2 separate regions of the Homo sapiens genome follow, and region 1 is linked to region 2. Evidence: promoter capture Hi-C in 16 types of primary human blood cells and fetal thymus (Javierre and others, 2016). All regions are on one chromosome and are shown on one strand. The core of a region is centred on a gene start or on the middle of the fragment in contact, and the rest is flanking DNA. Distances in the headings are between cores, read along the strand shown.

Evidence for each region. Contacts are between HindIII fragments. The CHiCAGO score rates a contact against its expected background, and 5 or more counts as called.
Region 1: a fragment that was not itself captured here is called in contact with the fragment with the promoter of MISP in region 2 in 1 of 17 cell types (erythroblasts); the score reaches 5.1 in erythroblasts.

The regions. Positions count from the first base shown.
Region 1 is chr19:593,788-599,725 of GRCh38, reverse strand. All of the region lies in intron 1 of HCN2 (hyperpolarization activated cyclic nucleotide gated potassium and sodium channel 2), which reads right to left. Among named protein-coding and RNA genes, the nearest start is that of HCN2, 6.9 kb to the right of the region's middle. The HindIII fragment of the contact is 2,153 bases long and covers 1,457-3,609 here.
Region 2 is chr19:748,988-754,683 of GRCh38, reverse strand. It overlaps MISP (mitotic spindle positioning), which reads right to left and starts at 3,572. Exons shown (of 5, transcript NM_173481.4): 1 at 3,513-3,572. The HindIII fragment of the contact is 4,613 bases long and covers 712-5,324 here.

The sequences.
Region 1 (5,938 bases), core at 1,284-3,783, 150 kb after region 2:
AGCTCCGCCTCCAGGGTTCACACCATTCTCTTGCCTCACCCTCCCGAGTAGCTGGGACTATAGGCGCCCGCCACCACGCCCAGATAATTTTTTTTTTTTTTTGTATTTTTAGTAGAGACGGGGTTTCACCATGTTAGCCAGGATGGTCTCGAACTCCTGACCTCGTGATCCGCCCGCCTTGGCCTCCTAAAGTGCTGGGATTACAGGCGTGAGCCACCGCGCCCGGCCAATTCTTGAGGCCTTATCCCCACCCCAGGCCCAGCCCCTCCCTATCATGGCCGGGGTCCCCACATCCTTTCGGAGGAGATGCTGAGGGACTGGAGGGACTCCCCAAAGTTAACACCAATAAAGAAAAACCTGGGAGCTCATCGCTGGCGTGGCCGCCGGGACCTTTGTTTCAGGAGCCGCCGAAAGTCGGCTCCTTGCTTCTGGACGGCTCCTCGAGGGAAAAGCTGTTAACACCACGTCTGCGGGGTGACCCAGACGCTCCACTTCGGGGAAATGATCCCGAGGAAACGGTCCAAAAGGAAGAGAAAAAAATTAAAAAGCCATTTGTACCAAAATGTTCACAGCAGCTCGGTCTGCAAGAGCCAAACGCTGGAAGGGACCCAGCGACTCACATCGTGGTGGCATCAGCCAGACCTGGGCTGGCACCCGCCTGCTGGCACAGTGACCTTGGACAAGTTCCTGCAGCCCCTGAGAACCTCAGTCTCTTCTTCCAAGCATCCACCGCCTCGGGATGGGGAGGGGCTGAGCCTTCGGGACACCCCCCAAGAACCACCCAGGCTGGGGATAAAACCTAGAGAAGGGCTGACTCAGGCTGGGCACGGTGGCTCACGCCTGTAATTCCAGGGCTTAAGGAGGCTGAGGCGGGCAGATTACAAGGTCAAGAGATCGAGACCATCCTGGCCAACACGGTGAAACCCCGTCTCTACTAAAAATACAAAAATGTATTATTTTTTTGTGTGAGGTGGCGGGCGCCTGTAGGCCCAGCTACTCGGGAGGCTGAGGCAGGAGAACGGCATGAACCCGGGAGGCGGAGCTTGCAGTGAGCCGAGATCGCGCCATCGCACTCCAGCCTGGGCGACAGAGCGAGACTCCGTCTCAAAAAAGAAGGGAAGGGTGGGTGCAGGGGCTCATGCTTCTAATGCCAGCACCTTGGGAGGCCAAGACTAAAGGATCACAGAAGCTCAGGAGTTCAGGACCAGCCTGGGCAAGATAGTGAGATCCCGTCTCTACAAAAAATACAAAAATTAGCCAGCGTGGTGGTGCGCACCTGTGGACCCAGCTACTTGGGAGGCTGAGGTAGGAGGATTGCTCGAGCCCATGAAGTCGAGGCTGCAGTGAGCCAAAACTGCACCATTGCACTCCAGCCTGGGTGACAGAGTGAGACTCTGTCTCAAAAAAAAAAAAGGCTGACTTGATCTCGGGGTGGGGAGGGGTCCCCTCACAAGCTTGAAGGGTGAAATCAAATGACTAAAAGGACTAGAAATTTAAGGCCTTCCTTTCCCTGAGTCTAGACAGGACATGAGGGCTCAGGCCCCCAGTCCGACACATCTGCTCAGCAACGAGACCCCCAGGGCCCCAGCACCGAGTGGGCTGAGGGGATGCCACCCGCCTGCCGCTGGCCCCCTGCCCCTCAGCCCCGAGGGGGCTCACCGTGGAGCTCAGCCCCAGCCTCACCCTCTGGATTGAGACCTGCCTCCCACCTTCGAGCACCAGTCTTGGGACAAAACCAGCAGGAAAGAGCAGTTGAGAAGGCCACAGGGCCTAGAAACCTCCCCCACGAGGGGCGAGGAGAAACTCCCAGGGGGCTCCAGAGACCACCAAGGGGGACCTAGAAACTGCCAAGGAGACCTAGAAACCGCCAAGGAGACCTAGAAACCACCAGGAGGACCTAGAAACTGCCAAGGAGACCTAGAAACCACCAGGAGGGCCTAGAAACCACCAAGGGGGACCTAGAAACCACCAGGAGGACCTAGAAACCACCAGGAGGACCTAGAAACCACCAGGAAGACCTAGAAACCACCAAGGAGACCTAGAAACTGTCAAGGGGGACCTAGAAACCGCCAAGGAGACCTAGAAACCACGAGGAGGACCTAGAAACCACCAAGGGGGACCTAGAAACCACCAGGAGGACCTAGAAACCGCCAAGGAGATCTACAAACCACCAGGAAGACCTAGAAACCACCAAGGAGACCTAGAAACTGTCAAGGGGGACCTAGAAACCGCCAAGGAGACCTAGAAACCACCAGGAGGACCTAGAAACCGCCAAGGGGTACCTGGTTTTAAACGGCCATATAACATGAAGGCCTCCTTTCCAGGTGATGATTAACAGACATTCTCCCCCTTTATTCTTGGGGTGAGCTGGGGGCAGGTACCACACCTCCCCTCTGATGGAAGTGGGACTGCAGGATGAGACCCCAGGACTGTCCTCTTATCCACGGCCCACACTGTCTGGAAACCACCTCCCTTGAGCCTTCTGCTCCTGTGTCCCCAGAAAGGACTCCTCAGCCCATCTTGCCCAGCAGGGCAGTATTCCTGGGGATTACGGGGGTCAGAGCAGAGGGGCCTAGGAGAAGGGACAGGTGGGGTGGCCACCCTGAGGGTCCCTTGTGGGGCTGGGCCTGCCCGTTCCAACCACAATGCCTCCAAGCAGGGCTTGGGGCCGCAACCCTCGTCGTCACCAGCCAGAGGTCAGAAGGAAGAAGGGCGCCCACGCATGTCCCCTACCAAGGGGAAACCGAGGCCTGGGGCAGAGGGGACCCCAGAGCCCTGCAGGGCGTCACTGTCTCTGCCGGTGCACCCCAACCCTCTCCACCCCAACCCTCTCCTTGCCCAACACTAGACTGAGTGACCTTGGGAGACCCTCTCCTGCCTCTCGCCCTGGGGAGGGGGAGGCAGCTCCAGAAGACAGGACCCCAGAGAGGGGACCTGGGGTCAGGGGAAGGCCCAAAGCCCAACCCCACTCCCCCTCACACTCTGTGCAGCCGCGTCCGGCAGCCCTTTCCCCATCCGGCCACCATAGGGACCCAGGCGGGCCCCAGCACTCCCCGGGCACCCTGTGCCCTCCTTGTCCAACCCCAGTGCTGAGCAGGGACAGGCCCCCCTCAGCTGTCACAGAAACATCAGTGACCATCATTAAATCCTGTATTTAAAACCCATCCCCGACAGGTAACAGTGAGGCCTCTACGAGGGCCCCTTCCTCGGAAACGCGGGGGTCCTGCCACTTTGTCCAGCTTGGCCCTCGCAGGCAGGGAGGGAGACCAGCTCCGGAGGCCGGGATGAGGCTGGGTCCCTGGGGAAACCTTCCGGCCTCAGCTCTCACACCTGGGGGACCGGAAGAAGCCTCGGACCCCCTCTCACTCCAGAGTGGCTTCAGTGGGGCCCCCGGCACCTGACACCGATGTGAGCTCAGCCCTCCTCCAACAGCCGCCCAGCCTCTCTCTCGGCTCTGACACGGAAACTGAGGCTCCTCCAGCCATAAGTGAAACAGTGGGATGGGAACCCAGACAGACCATGTCATTCTCCTGCCCCGAGCTCAGGGTTCTTCCCCTGAAGTTCCCAAAGCCGACGCAGGTCCCCGTCTCTCCAGGGCTGGATGAAGCTTGGGGGAGGAGGCCGCCGACCCGGCTCCCAAACCCCACGAGGACACCAGGTCTCCTGGCAACAGAAGGCCCAGGACCCTCAGCCCCTTGGATCCCAGGGGAGGGCCTGCCCAGGGGGTCTTCAGCCCCTGCTGGAGCCTGAGTCCCGGGTTGGGGAACGGGCGAGGGCAGCCAGGCCCTCCCCGCAGGAGCCCAGCCTCAGGCCGGAGGCCGTCCAGGATTTACAGATGGGGACAATCCGGGAGAGGATTAGGGGCCGGAGGTCGGTGATTAAGGGAGAGCCTCGGGCCGGGGGATTAGGAGACGGCACTCTCAGCTGTGGAGTCATGGCCAGATCCGTGGCAGGTGCCCAGGATTAAGAAAGGGAGCTGCTACGGGTGGGGGAGATCTCGGGTTCCCGGGTGATCCCGACGGGGCAGATGTTCACCGAACTCTCGCCGGGCGCCGGGGCACACGATGACCACACAGGCCCAGCCCCAAGACAGACACATGGGATGGGCCTGTCAGCCCCAGGCAGGTGGGAGGGCTCCTTGGAGGAGGTGGCGTGTGGGTGGATGAGATGGTGAGGGGAGGGCAGTGGCTGAAGAGGGGCAGCAGGTGCGGAGGTTGATGCTCCGGGTTCCCTTCAAGGCCGGTGGGCGGCCTCGGGACCAGGGGACATGACTGGGGAGGGCTGGAGCCAGGGAGGAGGTAGAGGTGACAGGGAAAGAAGGACCGATGTCTGGAGAGGCCCATGCTGACAGCCGGGAGGCCAGAAAGGGGGACGGGGAGGCATCTGGCAGGAGAGAGGCGGCCAGCGCACAGGGTGCGAGGCTGAACCGTGGGGTGGGGGGTGAGGCAGGGCCCGGCCCAAGTGAGTGGGGGGCTGATGAAGGTGACTTGAATATGTGGGTTTTTAGGTTTTTTTTATTTTTTTGAGACAGGGTCTCACTCTGTTTCCCGGGCCGGAGTGCAGTGGCACGATCATAGCTCACTGCAGCCTCAACCTCCTGGGCTCAGGTGATCCTCCCGCCTCAGCCTCCAGAGTAGCTGGGACTACAGGTGCACGCCACCACGCCTGGCTAATTTTTTAACTTTTTGTAGAGATGGGGGTCTTGCTATGTTGCCCAGGCTGGTCTCGAACTCCTGGGCTCAAGCGATCCTCCCGCCTCCGCCTCCCAAAGTACTGGCATTACAGGCATGAGCCACAGTGCCTGGACAAAGATGTCCGTTTTCGAGCAGGGAACATAGGGAAGGCCCTGAAGAGAGCGGGGAGGCCTTGGCCACCCCGACCCCTGACCCCTCCACGCAGACCAGAGGGCAGGCCACCGCCACCTGGGATATGGGTCCATGCACACCCCACCATCCTGCACACGCTGGGCCTTCCTGCCGTGACCAGAGCCAGACAAACCCTCGCCTCGCCCTGCCCCCGGGGCCATCCCCCCAGGATAATGGGGGGTTTATTCCCACGCCCTAATGCTGGGATTCATCACTGCGGATTTGCAGAGCTGCACCCCCAGGCTGATCTCCCGCTGACCCACTCAGCCATCTGAGGCGGGGCCCAGGGGCCGCCTGTCCTGGTGGGGTCTTGGAGCAGCTCCTCCCCGACCAGTCCTCTCGGGGACCCCAGGGGACATAACAGATCCTGGCTTTGGGGAGCATCTCGTCTGTCTCCCCTCACACGGGGCCTCCCCAGCTGAAGACAATTCAGAAACACAGACCTGCAAGTCAGCAGCAGCAGGAGACGGCAGGGCGGCCACAGGGCACTTAGCCCTGGAACTGGACCGAGGGCAGTCAGGAAGCCGCCAGCCTCTCTCCACCCGACACCTGCCCTGTGCCCCCCAGAGCTCCCAGGGCACAAACCCCGGATCTGCCCAGGTCTCCACCCCGCCAGGTCTGCCCAGCCCCCTCGGTGACACCGGGGGCAGGGAGGGTGGATGACAGCAAGCTTCGGAGAACGCGACCTCCTCAGACCGCCCCTCCCTGGGCCTTCGTGTCCCCTCCAGCCCCAGCCCCTCTCCTGCGGAGACACCCTCCAGCCCCAGCCCTTCTCGTGCAGAGACCTCCAGCCCCTGCCCCTCTCCTGCGGAGACACCCTCCTTTGCACGACTCAGGCTTTCCCAAGTGGACCTGTGTGGCCTTTAGAATCAGCGGCGGCTGGGGTGAAGGGAGTAGGAATGAACTATACTTATTTTTGACCTAATTTTGCTCTGGGAGGCACAGAAGACCCTGCCGAAGCCCTGGGGGTTGCATAAGGCCAAACCCCTTCCTTCTTGGTTTTCACGCCTGTTCCAATTCAGGCACCAACCGTGATCACCTACAAGGAAGGGAACTTGAGCCTCTGGAACCCA
Region 2 (5,696 bases), core at 2,323-4,822:
CCTCCTTCATGTCAGGCCTTGTACCCAGCACCCGTCTTAGGTATTGTCTTTTGTTTTGAGACAGAGTCTCGCTGCGATGCACAGGCTGGACTGCGGTAGCGTGATCTCAGCTCACTGCAATCTCCACCTCCCGGGTTCAAGCAATTCTCCTGCCTCAGCCTCCTGAGTAGCTGGGACTACGGGCACCCGCCCCCACACCCGGCTAATTTTTTCTTTTTTTTGAGGCGGAGTCTCACTCTGTCGCCCAGGCTGGAGTGCAGTGGCGCGATCTCGGCTCCCTGCAAGCTCTGCCTCCCAGGTTCACGCCATTCTCCTGCCTCAGCCTCCCTAGAGCTGGGACTACGGGCGCCCGCCACCACGCCTGGCTAATTTTTTGTATTTTTAGTAGAGACGGGGTTTCACCATATTAGCCAGGATGGTCTTGATCTCCTGACCTCGTGATCCTCCCGCCTCGGCCTCCCAAAGTGTTGGGATTACAGGCGTGAGCCACCGCGCCCAGCCAGGACACCCGGCTAATTTTTGTATTGTTAGTAGAGACGGGTTTCACCATGTTGGCCAGGCTGGTCTTGAACTCCTGACTTCAGGTGATCCGCCTGCCTCGGCCTCCCAAAGTGCAGGGATTACAGGCGTGAGCCACCGTGTCCAGCAGACATCATCTTTCATAGTTGAGGAAAGGAAGCCTCACCTGAAGACACAGGGATCTCAAAAGCTTGAGCTCCTGACTCCTAAAAAAAGCACTGTCGGCTGGGCACAGGGGCTCAGGCCTGTAATCCCAGCTACTTGGGAGGCTGAGGTGGGAGAATCACTTGAACCTGTGAGGTGGAGGTTGCGGTGAGCTGAGATTGTGCCATTGCACTCCAGCCTGGGTGACAGAGAAAGACCCTGTCTCAAAAGAAAAACAAACCCCCACAAAGCAGGACTGTCGCTCCCGGGCCACCAAGGCTATTATTTAGATCTGCTGCCTTTACACCAACCAGCAGCATTTTTTTTTGTTTTTAAACAGACAGGGTCGGCCAGGCACAGTGGCTCACACCTGTAATCCCAGCACTTTGGCGGATCACGAGGTCAGGAGATCGAGACCATCCTGGCTAAAATGGTGAAACCCCATCTCTACTAAAAATACAAAAAAAATTAACCGGGTGTGCTGGCGGGCGCCTGTAGTCCCAGCTACTCAGGAGGCTGAGGCAGGAGAATGCTGTGAACCCGGGAGGTGGAGCTTGCAGGGAGCTGAGATCGCACCATTGCACTCCAGCCTGGTGACAGAGCTAGACTCCGCCTCAAAAAAAAAAAAAAAGAAAAAAAGAAAAAAAAAGAAAAACTTAGCCCCTCTCTGAACTGGAAAGTGGCATCAAACAGCATAAAGTGGAGAGACCGTGGGGAGCCGTGTTGAAACTACACGCAATGTGTCATGCAATCTTCCGCGCGTATCAAATGTCAGAAACTAAAATAGGGGAAACATTGAAAACCAGGCGGCATTGGTGAATAAATCCCACACAAACAGCTGAGCTTCCTCCCAAAGCGTGACGCACAGATGGCTCCCCTGACCCGAGGCCTCCTCCTCCGTGGACGCCGCCTGCCCAGCTCACGGAAGGCCTTGCCTTCTCCCACCCGAAACCGTCAGCCCAGGCCTCGCTCTCGCCTGCTGTGGCCACAGGTCAGCACCCTTCCTGCAGCCCAGAGTCTGGTATACAGCAGGCGCCTAATAAATACTGGCTGGGCAAACACCACTCATCCCAGCTGCTCAGACGTGGGGGTCGGGCTCATTGCGGAATGCAGACCGGCTCCACCGTGCCTTCTGGCCCTGAAGGGCTGGGCAGGTCCACGCCCTGCACCCTGGAGCTCCCCGGGGAGGGCGGGTGTAGGAATGTTTGCCCAGTGAGTGGACAGACGTTTACACAGCGGGATTTATAACCCACATCAGACGTCAACTCCGGGAGAAAGGGAGCTGTCCGCCCAGCCTCGAGCAGGTGCCGGGTCTCCCAGTGGGGTCGGGGTTGGGTGGGGATGAAGGCACGCATCCTCCTCTGCTCATTCCTCCCCAGTGATTCACTGAAGCCAGCGGGTGGGGCCTGGGGTCCAGCTCTTGGGTTCAAGGCCACTGGGCCCCCTCCCCTGCTGCCTGTGCCTCAGTGCCCACCCCCGCCCCCCGCTTTTTTTTTTGAGATAGAGTCTCCCTCTGTCGCCCAGGCTGGAGTGCAGTGGCGCGATCTCCATTCACTGCAACCTCTGCCTCCCGGATTCACACCATTCTCCTGCCTCAGCCTCCCAAGTAGCTGGGACTACAGGCGCCCGCCACCACGCCCGGCTAAGTTTTGTATTTTTAGTAGAGATGGGGTTTCACTGTGTCGGCCAAAAAAACCCCTGGATCCACGGCGGCTCTCATGGCCGGCATTCTTGGGCAGCGGCGCTGCCCTCGGGGGAAGAGCCCCAGGACGGAAGATGGCCCCTGCAAGGCCCGGCGGTGGCTAAGGACCTCGGCGTCCTGAGACTCTTCCTGCAACACCTTGGAACCGTTTTCGACTCCGGTTTTCGAGAGAGGGAGCTGGGACCCAGAGAGGAGAACCTGCTCATCTGAGGTCACACAGCGATGACAGAGCAAGTGTCTGAAGCCAGTTTTCAGACTTTGCTCCAAATCACCCCCTCCTACAGGAAGCCCCCTGGGTTGCTCCTCCCAGCCTCACCCTGAACTCTGTTGATACCAGAATGAAACTGGGTTTATGGACCCTGGTGCCACACCTCCTTCCTCATCAGCCAGTTGGCTCTATGTGAGGGGCAAAGGTTCCCTTGTGGGGCCGAGACTCAGACAAGGAGGCCATGCAGAAGGGAGGGCCCCGTTCCTTTTTCCCATCCCTCAGGGTTGCAGTCACCCTTGAGTCATCTCAGCTCCTTGGGCTCCTGGGCGGAGCTCCACCGGCAGACGCTGGGCCGAGTCCCTGCTGGCTGCCCGGGATCCCAGGCTACCACCTCACCCCCACCCGAGGACCCAGGCCAAGTCCCCAGCCCCGGCCTGAGACTCCTTCCGCCTGTACTCAGCCACCCCTCCTCCGTGTCCCCAAACCAGCCCCCAGCCCCACGGGGGTGTTTACTGCCCAGAGCCTCCCAGTCAGGGGCCTGGTGGGACGGATAAGCATCTCTCCAGAAGCCTCTGGAATTCCCAGAACCATGGAGGGGCCCCTCTGGCCTCTGACCATGGGGGTGCCAACCCGGCCCCTCCCTTGGAGGGCTCTGGGATTTGGGGTTCAAAAGCCCCAGCAGAGTTCAGGGACAAGGGCCTCTCTGCTCTCCCAGTGGGTGCCCTTGAGGCCCCAGAGTACCTAGCGGGGGCAGAGGGAAAGGTGCCTCAGGGAGGCTCCGAGGGTGACGGGGTGGGGCAGGGGGCCTCCCTGGATCCCAAGTGCCGCCAGGCAAGCAGACCCCGCCCACAGACACATGACGCTCCCACGCCAAATGTGGATCCAACCGCCCCACACAGGATCCCCGCCCGGCCCGGCCCGGGGCGCCCCCAGCCTCACCTGCCGGCTCCCGGCTCCACAGTCTGCAGCCTCCACTCTGACTCCTCGATGGGCACAGAGGCCTCCCAGCTCCGCCCTGCCCGCCAGGTTGCCAGGGAACAGAGGCCCCACCCAGGGGAGGCAGGTGTGCCCCCTCCCCCCAGCCCCACCTGGGATCAGGAAACAAAGTCCAGAGGAGGAGGAGGGAGAAAGAGGATACCAGGCTGGGCAAGGGCGGGCACCGTGCCCGCTGCCGGCTGCCCCTCCACCCCCAGGGCCTCCAGGTGGCCCCGAGGAGCCAGAACTCAGCCGAAACCTCCCTTGGCTGCCTGGCCCTCCCACCGCCTCTCAGCACCGCTCAGAGAGGGTCAGCAGGTGTCCAGGGCCACACAGCAGCTCAGCGTGCACAGTGGCCTGTGTCTCCTGGGGGGCCGGAGGGGCTGAGTCCCAATCCCGTCCGTGCCTTCTGGCCCAGCCCACCCCTTGGGGCAACTCCCCTAGATGGCCCCCTTCTTGCATAAACCAGGTTTGGCAGACTCGGGGGGGTTTGGTGTGGCCTGGGTTCTGATCCCACCTGACCTCTCTTAGCCCTGTTTTCTCCTCCGGGACGTGGGGGAACATCACGCCCGGGCTCCCTCAGGGCTGCTGGGAGGAATTCCCTAGGCCCCATCCACATAAAAACCCATACGAGGGGGCCGGACTTGGTGGCTCACACCTGTAATCCCAGCACTTTGGGAGGCCGAGGCGGGCGGATCACTTGAGGCCAGGAGTTCGAGACCAGCCTGGCCAACATGGCGAAACCCCGTCTCTACTAAAAATACAAAATTTAGCGGGGTATGGTGGCACGCTATTATAATCCCAGCTACTTGGGAGGCTGAGGCAGAAGAATCACTTGAACCCAGGAGTTGGAGGTTGCAGTGAGCCGAGATCACACCACTGCACTCCAGCCTGGGCGACAAGAGCAAAACTCCAACTCAAAAAAAAAAAAAAAAAAAAAAAAAAAAGAACCGCACGAGGCCGTCAAAAGACCCAGGCCACCCCGAGAGATGGGGACGCAGAGGCCCTCAGGCGCCCATGGTCCTCCTGGATTCTTAGTCAAGGTGCAGAGGCCTTGCTGGGACTGTGGGGAGCCCAGCATCTGTGGGGAAGTCGGGCCACTGGGCCTAGCGCCGTCTATGAGGGCAGGGAACACAGCTGAGGGGGCAGGGACTTCAGTTCCCCAGGCTGGGGCTCTGTCCTGACCTACGCCAGAGGGGCTGCTTGTGGAGCCCCTCTGAACCTCAGTCTCTTCTTCGAGTAAAAAGGCCCCCAGCTACGAATCCAGCAGGGCTGCTCAGGAGGGGGGTGCTTTTTTTGTGTTTTTTTTTTGAGACGGAGTCTCGCTCTTGTCACCCAGGCTGGAGTGCAGTGGCACGATCTCGGCTCACGGCAACCTCCCCTGTTCAAGCAATTCTCCTGCCTCAGCTTCCCTAGTAGCTGGGATTACTGGCATGAGCCACCACGCCCAGCTATTTTTGTATTTTTAGTAGAGACAGGGTTTTGCCACGTTAGCCAGGCTGGTCTCGAACTCCTGACCTCAGGTGATGCCCCCGCCTCAGCCTCCCAAAGTGCTGGGATTACAGGCGCGAGCCACGGCGCCTGGCCAAGATGGGGGTGTTTAAGGACAAATCTGGATAAAGGGCCCCCAAAGGACAGCGTGGCACCTAACGCTGCTGGGTGTGTGAAAGCTCAGGGTGCGCGGCCTCACGGCGCCTCCCACCGCCGCCTCCCGCCACCCCCTTCACGTCCTTTTCTCCCTGGCTTGTAGATAGGGAAACGGAGGTACGGAAAGCTTAAAATCGCGCCTCAGGAATGGCGGGGGTTTAGGCTGGAATTGGAACCTGAGTTCCCTCAGCAGTGCTCTCCACCACACTCACCACCTCATCGGGGAAAACTGAGGCCCCAGCAGGGTGGAGGCTGGATCGCCCATGAGCTGGGGGCACTGTGGAGACGTCCCACGCCCAGGCTGAGGCTGGCCTCCCACTCAGGGCTCCGAAGGCCTATTTTATTTTATTTGAGACAGAGTCTCGCTCTGTCGCCCAGGTTGGAGTGCAGTGGCACGATCTCAGCTCACTGCAGCCTCCGCCTCCCAGGTTCAAGCGATTCTCCTGCCTCAGCCTCCTGAATAGCTAGGATTACAGGCGTGAGCCACCACGCCCGGCTAAG